Regions from separate parts of the Homo sapiens genome. Here all the other regions are linked to region 2. Evidence: promoter capture Hi-C in 16 types of primary human blood cells and fetal thymus (Javierre and others, 2016). All regions are on one chromosome and are shown on one strand. The core of a region is centred on a gene start or on the middle of the fragment in contact, and the rest is flanking DNA. Distances in the headings are between cores, read along the strand shown.

The links. The method cuts DNA at HindIII sites, captures the fragments that hold promoters and counts their contacts. A CHiCAGO score of 5 or more calls a contact.
Region 1: a contact is called between the fragment with the promoter of RELA here and the fragment with the promoter of TIGD3 in region 2, in 1 of 17 cell types (neutrophils). The highest score is 6.5, in neutrophils.
Region 3: a contact is called between a fragment that was not itself captured here and the fragment with the promoter of TIGD3 in region 2, in 1 of 17 cell types (neutrophils). The highest score is 5.5, in neutrophils.

Annotation. Positions count from the first base shown.
Region 1 is chr11:65,660,631-65,664,165 of GRCh38, reverse strand. It overlaps RELA (RELA proto-oncogene, NF-kB subunit), which reads left to right and starts at 1,250. Exons shown (of 11, transcript NM_021975.4): 1 at 1,250-1,340; 2 at 1,961-1,987; 3 at 2,078-2,229; 4 at 2,331-2,479. The coding sequence starts at 1,334. RELA-DT (RELA divergent transcript) reads right to left here and starts at 1,160. Exons shown (of 4, transcript NR_183625.1): 1 at 1,018-1,160. RefSeq lists an enhancer at 744-943 and silencers at 1,034-1,443, 1,504-1,563. The HindIII fragment of the contact is 22,197 bases long and covers 1-3,535 here.
Region 2 is chr11:65,353,451-65,357,545 of GRCh38, reverse strand. TIGD3 (tigger transposable element derived 3) reads right to left here and starts at 2,795. Exons shown (of 2, transcript NM_145719.3): 1 at 2,589-2,795; 2 at 1-1,753. The coding sequence starts at 1,737. The coding sequence ends at 322. It overlaps DPF2 (double PHD fingers 2), which reads right to left. Exons shown (of 11, transcript NM_006268.5): 11 at 3,284-4,095. RefSeq lists silencers at 2,088-2,277, 2,338-2,507, 2,518-2,577, 2,598-2,917, 3,008-3,067. The HindIII fragment of the contact is 1,484 bases long and covers 1,716-3,199 here.
Region 3 is chr11:65,842,033-65,845,953 of GRCh38, reverse strand. All of the region lies in intron 1 of SNX32 (sorting nexin 32), which reads right to left. Among named protein-coding and RNA genes, the nearest start is that of SNX32, 10 kb to the right of the region's middle. The HindIII fragment of the contact is 8,144 bases long and covers 1-3,921 here.

The DNA.
Region 1 (3,535 bases), core at 1-2,500, 310 kb before region 2:
GTCACCTGAAGTCGGCCTCCCCCGCCCCCTGCCAAAAGTAAACACTTTTCTAATCAGGGCCAGCCACTGGAGAAACTGAAATGAGTGGGCGGGGTGCTAACTCTATTTTCACTTTTCTCTTCCTGTTTCTTCAGAGCCTGGGAAACAAGTCAGAATTTCCAATCTTTTCCAATTCCCACATGATTTCCTAATTTAAGACGAATTCAGAGAAAATAAAAAAGTCTTTCTCCATCTGGAGAAGACTCCGCCCCCTGCAGTGGAGCATCCTCCTTTGGGGATGAGGCCTGGGGTGGGGGTGCGTCAGCCCCAGCCTCCACACGGACGCGCCTTGGGCTTGGTCTTGGGGGAGCTACCTGCACTGTGGGGTCACATGACAGAATTAGTGGTCAGCCCTAGCTGGAGGTCCAGGGCAAACACAGGCGGGGGCAGGGGGGTGGGGGGTCGTGAGCCTGCTGATTCAAGTGTCCCTGTGGGTCCCGCACCTTCTGAGACACAAGCGCCAGGCTTCAGAGACGAGGCTCCGGGATTTACCCCTGGGGGCCTCCTGCTCCCACAGCCGATGAGAGCCGGCAGTTTGGCTGTATCGTAAGCTGGCGCTTTAGCTGGAGAGGGACGAGCCCTCGGCCAGCTCGCCAGCGGGAGGGCCTCAGTCGTCCCATCCGGGCTGTAGGCTCCGCAAAGCTCTTGATGCACTGTCAGGCTGGGAGGTCCGGCCGCTCCCATTCCCCCACAGCCGCATCTAGATTGGGGTGGGTAGGACATTTTAACGTGCTTCTGAGACAGCCACCACCGAAAGGCACCTTTAGCGGTTAGGAAACCCGCGCGGAGTTCAACCACCCGGCCTCTGCGGAGCAGAAGGCCCGGTCGGGCTTTTCCCTGCGCGGGGCGGGCGGCCGCAGCCCAGTAGCCCTGGCTTTGCTCCAGACCCGGCCCAGAGTGACATCACCAAACTCCGCCGATCGGCGGGAGGGGGCCCTGAAATCCCCTAAAAACAAAGTGAGTAATCGGCGGACCCACCCTCCAGGCGGGGCCGGGACCCGGGAGCTAGCCGAGCCACCGGGCACGCCAGCCTCTTCGTCCTCGGCGAGGCGCGCACTTGGCCCCGACCCCCGGCAGCGGCTGTGCGTGCAGCCTCTTCGTCCTCCGCGCGGCGTGCACTTGCTCCCGGCCCCTGCGCCGGGCGGCGGCGGGGCAGCGCGCAGGCGCGGCCGGATTCCGGGCAGTGACGCGACGGCGGGCCGCGCGGCGCATTTCCGCCTCTGGCGAATGGCTCGTCTGTAGTGCACGCCGCGGGCCCAGCTGCGACCCCGGCCCCGCCCCCGGGACCCCGGCCATGGACGGTGAGGTCGCCCTCTGACCCCGCGGGGTGGCATCGCCGGGGCCGCCGCGGCTGTGGCGGGAGCCCCCGCGCCGCTTTCCGCCCCTTCCTGCGCCGACGGGCGCTGCGCAGGGAGCGGTCGGCCTGCCGGATGGTGGCGCGGGGCGGGGCAGGCGGGGAGGGGTCTGACTCAGTTTCCCCTCTGGGTGGAGGGGGTGGCCCTTGACTCAGCATCCTCCCTGGGTGGGGGAGCAGAGGGAACCTTGACTCAGTTTCCCTCCACACCGTCCATGGGGGCAGCTCTGGCTTCGTTTCCCTATTAGGGGAGAACGCATCTGATTCAGTTTCCTCTCTGGAGGGAGGTGGGGCGTGCCCTCCCTCAATTTTCCTTAAGAAAGTACAACAGGCCCTGATTCAGCTTCCCTCTGGAGAAGAAGGATTCCTTACCCCGTTTTCCCTCAAGAAGCAGGTGTTTCTGGTTCCTTTCCTCCACCCCTTAGTTTCACCGCAGGTTCTAGGGAGCAGGTCCTGACTCAGTTCCCCTGGGAGGGAGCCTGGCTTCTCCTCTCCGTGGAGAGCAGATTCCTCCTTGTGAGAATGGGCATTGGGTGTGTGCTGACCCTGATCTCCCTCCCCTTTCAGAACTGTTCCCCCTCATCTTCCCGGCAGGTAAGTGGCCCCCGCGGCGGTCGGGGAGGTGCTCCCTGGGGTAGGGCAGTGGGGGCAGCCGCCTAATGGGGCTGCGGTGTCCCCTGGCAGAGCCAGCCCAGGCCTCTGGCCCCTATGTGGAGATCATTGAGCAGCCCAAGCAGCGGGGCATGCGCTTCCGCTACAAGTGCGAGGGGCGCTCCGCGGGCAGCATCCCAGGCGAGAGGAGCACAGATACCACCAAGACCCACCCCACCATCAAGGTCAGCACTGCGCCAGGGTGTGCGGGGAAGGGACTGTGGAACCCCAGCCCTCTGTGTTTGGGAGTCAGGTTTGGATGTCTGGGCCTCTGTACTTTGGACAGATCAATGGCTACACAGGACCAGGGACAGTGCGCATCTCCCTGGTCACCAAGGACCCTCCTCACCGGCCTCACCCCCACGAGCTTGTAGGAAAGGACTGCCGGGATGGCTTCTATGAGGCTGAGCTCTGCCCGGACCGCTGCATCCACAGGTGAGGTCCCTGCAGGCTAGGAGGCCCAGCATGAGGGGACAGGAGGCGGGCTATGAAGTAGCCGCTACAGTGTTACTCCTTTCTGGACCCAGGGCAGAATTCCTCACTCCTTGCCCTGACTCAGCTCTGCAAGTAAACTGCCTTTGTCTTGAAATTATCTATTTGTACGTTTACTCTAGCAGATGAGTTCCAGGGGATACGGATGGGTCCCTAATCACTTCTGAATTCCTGACCCCTGTAGCTGGAAGGACAAGTCCCTCAGAGTCACGTCTCTTGTTTGAGGAAGAAAACCATTGAACCAGCACTCTCCCCTGGAGTTGACATTGCAGTTGACAGAGACAGGCTGTAAAAAAATATACAGGCCGGGCATAGTGGCTCATGCTTATAATCCTAGCACTTCGGGAGGCCAAGGCAGGAAGATCTCTTGAGCCTAGGAATTCAAGACTAGCCAAGGCAACATAGTGAGACCCCATGTCTACAAAAAATAAGAAATTAGCTGGGTATGGTGGCATGCGCCTATAGTCCCAGGGAGGCTGAGGTGGGAGGATCGCCTGAGCCCAGGAGGTCACTGCTGCGGCAAGCTATGATTGCACCACTGCACTTGGGTGGCAGGGCGATACCTTGTCTTTTTTTTTTTTTTTTTTTTTTTAAGAAAGAGTCTTGCTCTGTCCCCAGACTGGAGTGCAGTGGCGCGATCTCAGCTCACTGCAACCTCCACCTTCCGGGTTCATGCCATTCTCCTGCCTCAGCTTCCCGAATAGCTGGGACTACAGGTGCCTGCCACCACGCCTGGCTAATTTTTTGTATTTTTTAGTAGAGACAGGGTTTCACCGTGTTAGCCAGGATGGTCTCAATCTCCTGACCTTGTGATCTGCCTGTCTTGGCCTCCCAAAGTGCTGGGATTACAGGCTTGAGCCACCGCACCCGGCCCGACACTGTGTCTCTTAAAAATAAATAAATACACAGATAAATAAACAAGGTGCTGTCAGAGTAACAGTTTCAGTCCTGAAAATAAAACGAGGTCATAGGATAGAAGGATAACCTGGGGTGGGGGAG
Region 2 (4,095 bases), core at 1,546-4,045:
GTCCAAAAAGCCCAAATTCCACCTTTCTAAGTGGCTGCCTCTAGACTAACTCCCTTTCAAAGGCTCTAGAACTTTCAAGCAGGGTCTAGAAACTAAGCATCCTGGATTCCTACCCCCGAAGCCCCATCTTTAGAGCTCTCTTCCTGGGGTTTGGACGACTGCCACTCCAAGCTCAGACTTGGTGTCCCAACTTCTCTCCCTTCTACACCTTTACGACAGTTCTATTTCCACAGGAAAGAGACAGCCCGATCTGCCTTCTGAAGAGGCCGTTTCCATGGGAAACAAGAGAGGAAGGGGCTCTGGCAAGCAGTGAAGGCGCCTTCATAGGCAGCAAAGCCGCTCCACCTCCTCCTCACAGTCGTAGAATTTTTCGAATAGCTCAGGAGAAGTGCTGTTGCATTCAAACCACCTCCTCAAGGTGCCCAGGGCCCGGAGGGCATCAGCTTTGGTGGGCAGGGGCTCAAAGGCACCCTCTCTGTCCCCCTTCTCGTCTTCAGTGCCTATCTCCTCCTTACATACTCCAGACCTTGGCTCCTCACCCTCCAGGTCCACAAAGCGGGAAAACTCCTCCAGGCTCAGCCCGCCGGGGACTGGTGGCATCTCAGAGGTTTTGTGCGAGGACGGGGGCGTTTTGCCGGGAGCCAGCCCTTCTTGAATGAAGCTGCTGAAAATGAGCTGAGGAGGCACCTTGGCCCAGGCGGCAGACGCCACGTGCAGGGCGTCCAGCACGGTGATGCCTGCCCCGGCCTCGGCCAGCGAGGTGCCATCCCTCTCGCTTTGGATGGCAGCCAGTTTGCCCAACAGCCGGTGTCGGTAATGGGCCTTAAAGGCCCGGACCACTGAGCTGGGCAGGGGAGGCGTGGTGCTAGAGGCGGCCAGAGGCAAGAGCTTCACGTGGTAGAGCCCAGGCAGGCCTGCCAGCTCCTCCACCACTCGGGCAGCCAGCAGCAAAGCCACCTGTCGGCCCTGCTGTCCCATGTCCCGGTCAAACTGTGCCAACCACTCTAACCAGGGGATGCCCAGGTCCGGGTGGTAGGAGGCAGGCAGAGCCTCACTGCGGATCCCAAAGAAGCATCTCGGGGCAGCCTGGAGCCCACCCAGCAGTACCCGCCGCTTCTCGGTGCCCCTGCTGTTGGCACACAGCAGCACCTGTACTTGATCACATGCACCAAAGCTGCCGGGCACTGCCCGATACAGCAAGGGCAATTCAGCACAGCCAAACACGTCCTCTGGAGAGAAGTCTTTTAGGGAAAGAGGCAGCTGAGCCTGGGATGTGAGCCCCGGGGGAGGTGGCTCAGGGGGGAATGAAGGCGCAAGAACATGGCGGGCCCCAAAGCCGACGTTGTTTCGGCGTTTCCAGCGGACCAGCCAGCCGATGCTGGGCACGAAGTCCTGGCCCATGATATCGGCCAGCTCCTTGGCTTTGTGGAGCAGCATGGGCCCCGTCACGTCCCAGGCCTTGGCCCGGGCAATGTGGTACCAGCAGAGCAGAGCCTCGTCGATCCCGCTGTACTTGGACTCCCGCTTGCGCTTGCGCTCTCGGTTGGCTGTGCCGCTGCACCAGTCCGCCAGCAGCTTCTCCTTATTCTTGCAGATGCGCGAGATCTGGGGCTGGGAAACCTGGAAGCGCCGGGCCACCTCCGACTGGGACATCTTGGACTCATCCAGGAGTTCCAGCACCTGGATCTTCTCGGCCAGGGACAGGGCGTGAAGCTTCTTCTTGCTGCTCAGCTCCATGGCCTCTCCGGGGCACCTGTGCGGGGAGGAAAGATTGAGCGGGTAGAGTAATCTGAGGCCGGAAGAGCTAGGAAAGGAGCGCAGGAGGGAAAAGAGATTAGATGAGGACTTGCGCAGGCACCGGGTGAGACTGGACCCGCTGAAAGAGGAAGTGGCTAGGCCGAGTGGAAGCCGGCTGGCCCCGTCCCCAGGATGCCAGGGCAGAGCTGGGGAGGGGGCGTCTCTCCACTCAGAAGGACAGGGGAGTCTGGGCTGGGGTCTGGCCTCACTCGGGAAGAAGGATGAAAAGTGCAGGGGACAGCTGCAGAGATAACAAAGGCATACGGACGGGGGAGGGCCTGGGACTGGGGCCGAGGGGGCAGGTGTGGGGCTACGGGGCTGCGGGGGAGGAGCCCCCGGGAGGGAGTGGGAGGCGGCTTGGGCTGGATTCAGATGACGCCGCTGGGGGGTGGGAGGTGGGTGGATGCACACAGAGTTGAGGTGACAGGTGTACAGACGACAAAGGGGACAGAGGGTGTCTGAAGGAGCGAGGCTAATTTGGTGCCGGGTCCTGAGAGGGAGGCTAGGCGACGGTCAGTCCTGAGGGGAGCGAGAGGGCAGGGCCGAGGGCGCAGGTGCACGAGCGACAAAGGGCGGGAGGCCTGAGGAGGCTGCGGGCAGCGGAGGGGCGGGGTGTCCCCGCGGGGAGGGTGGTGGCCTGGGAGGGTCCCAGGGCGCGGGAACGAACGCCCGGACCCAGGCAGGCCGGCAGCCGGACTCCGTGCCCTGGCCGGTCACTCCCCCTCGACCCGGAGTATGTCGGCGGGGCGGCCCCAGGCGCCCGCCCGCCCGGCCTCCCGCTCCGCACCCACCTCAGGCGCTGGTCCCGCGGCTCCAGCCCCTGCCCCCAGCCCGGCTCCCGAGCCCCTGTCCGGGCGGCGACAGCAGAACAGGGGAGGGATGGGCGCCACGACCCCGAGGGCAGAGCGGACCGAGGGCCTGCGCGGACGGCGGGCGGGCGGGCGCGCGCACAGCAGAGTCCCGTGCGCGCCGCCCGCGCCGGGCTCTCTCCCGGCTGCGAAGTCCGCGGTGCGGCCCCTCTGCACCCACCCGCCGCAGCCCCGCCCCGGCCCAAGCAGATTGGTCCTCAGTGGCGCCCCGTCCCTCCCCCGGCTAAGTTTCATTGGACGTTGCGGAAGTGGCGGTTCGTCGAGCCCCTCTGGGGGCGGGGCTTCTAGCGCGGAGGGGCGGGAGGCGGAGCCAGGAACCAGCAGGACTCCCCTGGGCGCCTCCAGCAGCCGCCGACCCCGAGGGCCCGACGAGCCCTGTAGGTGGTGTGGTGACCGCCGAGCTGACTTGGCGTCCCAAAGCCTCCCTGGCCGTGACCCTAGACCGCATCGGCTTCTTCGTCTACCAAGCAGGGCTAACAGCCCTCACGGAATTGTTTTGGGAAAACGATGAAAGGAGAAAATGGATGCAAGCTTTAAGCCACACAAAAGCTGGTTACCATGGACAGCGCTGGCTCGAGTCTGTCGGCCACGGAAACACTGCATGCTTGGGCCAGTAATGATTTAGGACGAGTATTTTATTAGATTTGGTACTTTACAAGATTCAAGTTCTTAAACTCAAGATCTGGCATCGTTCCCTTCCCTGCTAACCTTCAGTCCCGAATTAAACGCAGACGTCTTGACCCGCAGCCCAGCTGCTCTCCAGCCTCGCTGCTCCCTCCGCTCACAGCTCCGCATCCTCTGCCTTCCTCACAGGCTTCCGTCCGCACCCCCGTCCTACCGGCTGACACTGTCCAACTCTCCAAGACCCATCTCAAATCCTACCTCCCGCAAACCCTTCCTAAATTTCCTCACCTAGGCCTGCTACAGCGTTCTTATTTTCCACATTTCTTTTCTGGCTCTCGGACTACTCAGCTGCCAAAGCGCATCCATTGCTGTACTCCCTCTCTGCCTGGCCTACTTCAGTGGAAAAGCATGAGGACGGGCTGCGCTCTGCTCCTCACACAATCCCCAGCCCAGAGCACCCTGCTTATTTATTGAACATAACAGTGCAGGCCGGCCTAGGCTTCCCATAGGCAAGGATGACTTTCAGAATGTTCTAGAAAAAAGGATACTTCAGGGGGCCCATAACTGCTTGATTCAAATCTTTCCTTTAAAAACATAAAAACAACAGTTGGACTTCTAAAACACACACTGAAGACATACGCGCTGCCACGTAAGCTCTCCACATGTTCACTTTGCCTTCAGGGAAACTGTGTGCACATCAACGTGCCCTGGGAAAGGCTGCAGGGCTGCACTGCGGGCAGTTCAGATCCTAGAGCACTTGCTCTGGCCTGGGAGCGCTGCAGGCAACTGAAGCCACACAGACCCT
Region 3 (3,921 bases), core at 354-2,853, 490 kb before region 2:
GCAATTATGCATTGTGTATTCTTTTGTGCCCCTGTTCTTTAGAGAGCTCTCTACGTTGTTGAGTGGAGAAGCAGTTATTTTCATTGCTGTGTCTTATTTCATTACATGATTATATCATAATGTATGTATCTACTGTTGATGGTCATTTGGATTATTTCAAGTTTTTGGCTATTATGAATAAAGCTGCCATGAACAGTTTTTTGTTGGTTTTTTTTTGAGATGGAGTTTTGCTCTTGTTGACCAAGCTGGAGTGTAATGGCAAGATCTCGGCTCACTGCAACCTCTGCCTCCTGGTTCAAGCGATTCTCCTGCCTCAGCTTCCTGAGTAGCTGGGATTACAAGCATGGGCCAGCATGCCTGGCTAATTTTTTGCATTTTTAGTAGAAACGGGGTTTCATTATGTTGGCCAGGTTGGTCTCAAACTCCTGACCTCAGGTGATCCGCCCACCTTGGCCTTCCAAAATGTTGGGATTACAGGCGTGAGCCACTGCAACCGGTTACTTTTTTTTTTTTTTTGAGATGGAGTCTTGCTCTGTTGCCCAGGCTGGAGTGCAGTGGCACGATCTCAGCTCACTGCAACCTCCGCCTCCCGGGTTCATGCCATTCTCCTGCCTCAGCCTCCCTAGTAGCTGGGATTACAGTCATACACCACCACGCCCAGCTAATTTTGTATTTTTTAGTAGAGACGGGGTTTCACTGTGTTAGCCAGGATGGTCTCGATCTCCAGACCTCATGATCCGCCCGCCTCGGCCTCCCAAAGTGCTGGAATTACAGGAGTGAGCCACCACACCCAGCCTTTTTTTTTTTTTTTTTTTTTTAAAGCAGGGGGGTGTTCTCGCTATGCTGCCCAGGCTGGTTGAACTCCTGGCCTCAAGCCATCCTTCCACTTCAGCCTCCCAAGTAGCTGGGATTACAAGTGTGCAGCACCATGTCTGGCTTCCATGAACATTCTTACACAGGTCTTTAGAAGACTTTTTTTTTTTTTTTTGAGACAGAGTCTTGCTGTGTCACCCAGGCTGGAGTGCAGTGACGTGATCTTAGCTCACAGCAACCTCCGCCTCCCAGGTTCAAGTGATTCTCCTGCCTCAGCCTCCTGAGTAGCTGGGGATACAGGTGCCCGCCACCACGCCTGGCTAATTTTTGTAATTTAGTAGAGATGGGGTTTCGCCATGTTGGCCAGGCTGCTCTTGAACTCCTGACCTCAAGTGATCTGCCCGCTTCGGCCTCCCAAAGTGCTAGGATTACAGATGTGAGCCACCACGCCCAGCCGTCTTTTGAGGACTTTTGACCTAAGTCCCCATTTCTGTTGGGCATGAGAATTGCTTAGTTACAGGGAAGACATATTGTATGTTTAAAACACTTTAGTAAATACTGCCAAACGGTTTTCTAAGGTGACTAAACCAATGTACACTCCCAGCAGCACTGTGTATGAAAGTTCCAGTTGTACTACATCTTTGCCACAGAGTCGTTAGTCATTTTATCTCTCTCTCTCTCTATTTATTATTTTTTTTTTTTTAAAGAAAAGGGGTCCTGCTAATGTTGTCCAGGCTGGCCTTGAACTGGGCTCAGGCAATCCTCTGGAGTAGCTGAGAGCTGCTTTTGTGTACACGTATCAATTGACCTATTAAGTATGATAAACTTTGGACTCTCTGTTCCATTGGTCTATGTTTGTCCTTATGATAATATCTCACTGGACTGATTACTGTAATCTAACAGGTGAGACTGGAAATCAGATAGTGCAAGGCCTCCACCTTTATTCTTTTTTTTCAGAATCATTTGGGTGATTATAGGTCCTTTACATTTCTACCCCTGAAAAACATACTGGGATTTTGATTGTGATTGCATCGAATATATAGATCAGTCTGGGCACAAACCACTGTGACAGCTCAGAATTGTTAGTCTTTTTTACTTTCACCCTGTTAGTCCAGGCATGGTAATTGCGCATGGGGAGTGTAACTGGTATTACCTGGTGAGGAATGATGTTGAGCGGCATTTTCTGTATTTATCAGCCATCTGCATATCTTCTTTTGTAAAGTGCCTATTCAGGTCTCTGATTCTTTCCTGCCACCTCTTTGAAAGATCAGATTATCTGTTTTTCAGTAATTTGTAGGAACTGTTGCTGGAGACAAACCCATTGTTGATTATACCTTTTGTCAGTATCTTTTCCTAGTCTATAGTTTGCCTTTGACTCTTAATGGTTCAAATGTTACAAGCTCAACATAACAGTCTTTTATGTCTATGGTTAAGGCTTTTTGTGTCCTGTTAAAGAAAACTTTGCCTACCCCAAGGTCATGAAGATATTCTATTTATTTTTCTAGAGGTGTTACAGTTTAAGCTCTTGCAGTTGTATCTATAATCCATTTTCTTTTTCTTTTTCTTTTTCTTTTGAGACAGAGTCTTGCTCTGTTGCCCAGGCTGGTGTGCAGTGGCACGATCTTGGCTCATTGCAACCTCCGCCTCCCAGGTTCGTGATTCTCCTGCCTCAGCCTCCTGAGTAGCTGCAATTACAGGTGCCCGCCACAACGCCTGGCTAATTTCTGTATTTTTAGTAGAGATGGGGTTTCACTCTTTTGGCCAGGCTGGTCTCAAACTCCTGACCTCAAGTGATCTACCCTCCTTGGCCTCCCAAAGTGCTGGGATTACAGGCATGAGCCACCCTACCTGGCTATGATCTATTTTCAATTCATTTTCTTCATTTTAATTTTAATTTCTTTTTCTTTTTTTTTTTTTTTTGAGACGGAGTCTTGCTCTGTCGCCCAGGCTGGAGTGCACTGGCGCAATCTCGGCTCACTGCAAGCTCCACCTCCTGGGTTCAAGCCATTCTCCTGCCTCAGCCTCCCTAGTAGCTGGGACTACAGGTGCCCACCACGCCCAGCTAATTTTTTGTATTTTTAGTAGAGACGGGGTTTCACCATGTTAGCCAGGATGGTCTCGATCTCCTGACCTCATGATCCCCCGGTCTCGGCCTCCCAAAGTGTTTCTTTTTTTTTTTTTTTTTTTTTTTGAGATGGAGTTTCGCTCTTGTTGCTCAGGCTGGAGTGCAATGGCGGATCTCGGCTCATTGCAACCTCCGCCTCCCAGGTTCAAGCGATTCTCCTGCCTCAGCCTCCCAAGTAGCTGAGATTACAGGCGCCCACCACCACACCCAGCTCATTTTTGTATTTTTAGTAGAGACGGGGTTTCACTATGTTGGCCAGGCGGTCTCGAACTCCTGACCTCAGGCGATCCACCCCCCCTTGTTCTCCCAAAGTGCTGGGATTACAGCCATGAGCCACCGTGCCTGGCCTAATTTTAATTTCTTGAGATGGAGTCTTGCTTTGTCACCCAGGCTGGAGTGCAGTGGCACGATCTTGGCTCACTGCAGCCTCTGCCTCCTGGGTTCATGCCATTCTCTTGCCTCAGCCTCCCAAGTAGCTGGGATTACAGGCGTGTGCCACCAGGCCCAGCTAATTTTTTTGTGTTTTTAGTAGAGACAGTGTTTCACCATGTTGGCCAGTCTGGTCTCAAACTCCTGACCTCAGTTGATCCACCTGAGCCTCGGCCTCCTAAAGTGCTGGAATTACAGGCATGATCCACCACGCCCGGTGATTTTCAATTCATTTTGAATATGCAGTGTGAGGTATGGGTTATGATTCATTGTGCCATGTGGCCAGCTATTTGAGCACTGTTTGTTATAAAGATTTTCCTTTTGCTATTGAATTGCTTTGGTGTACACATATCCATTGACCTATTAAGAGTGACAAATTTTGGACTCTCTACTGTGTTCCATTGGTCTAAATGTTTATCCTTATGATAATATCTTACTGTCTTGATTACTGTAACTTGACAGGTGCGACTTGAAATCAGATAGTGCAAAGCCTCCAACTTTATTCTTTCTTTTCAAAATAATTTTGGCTATTATAGGTCCTTTACATTTCTACA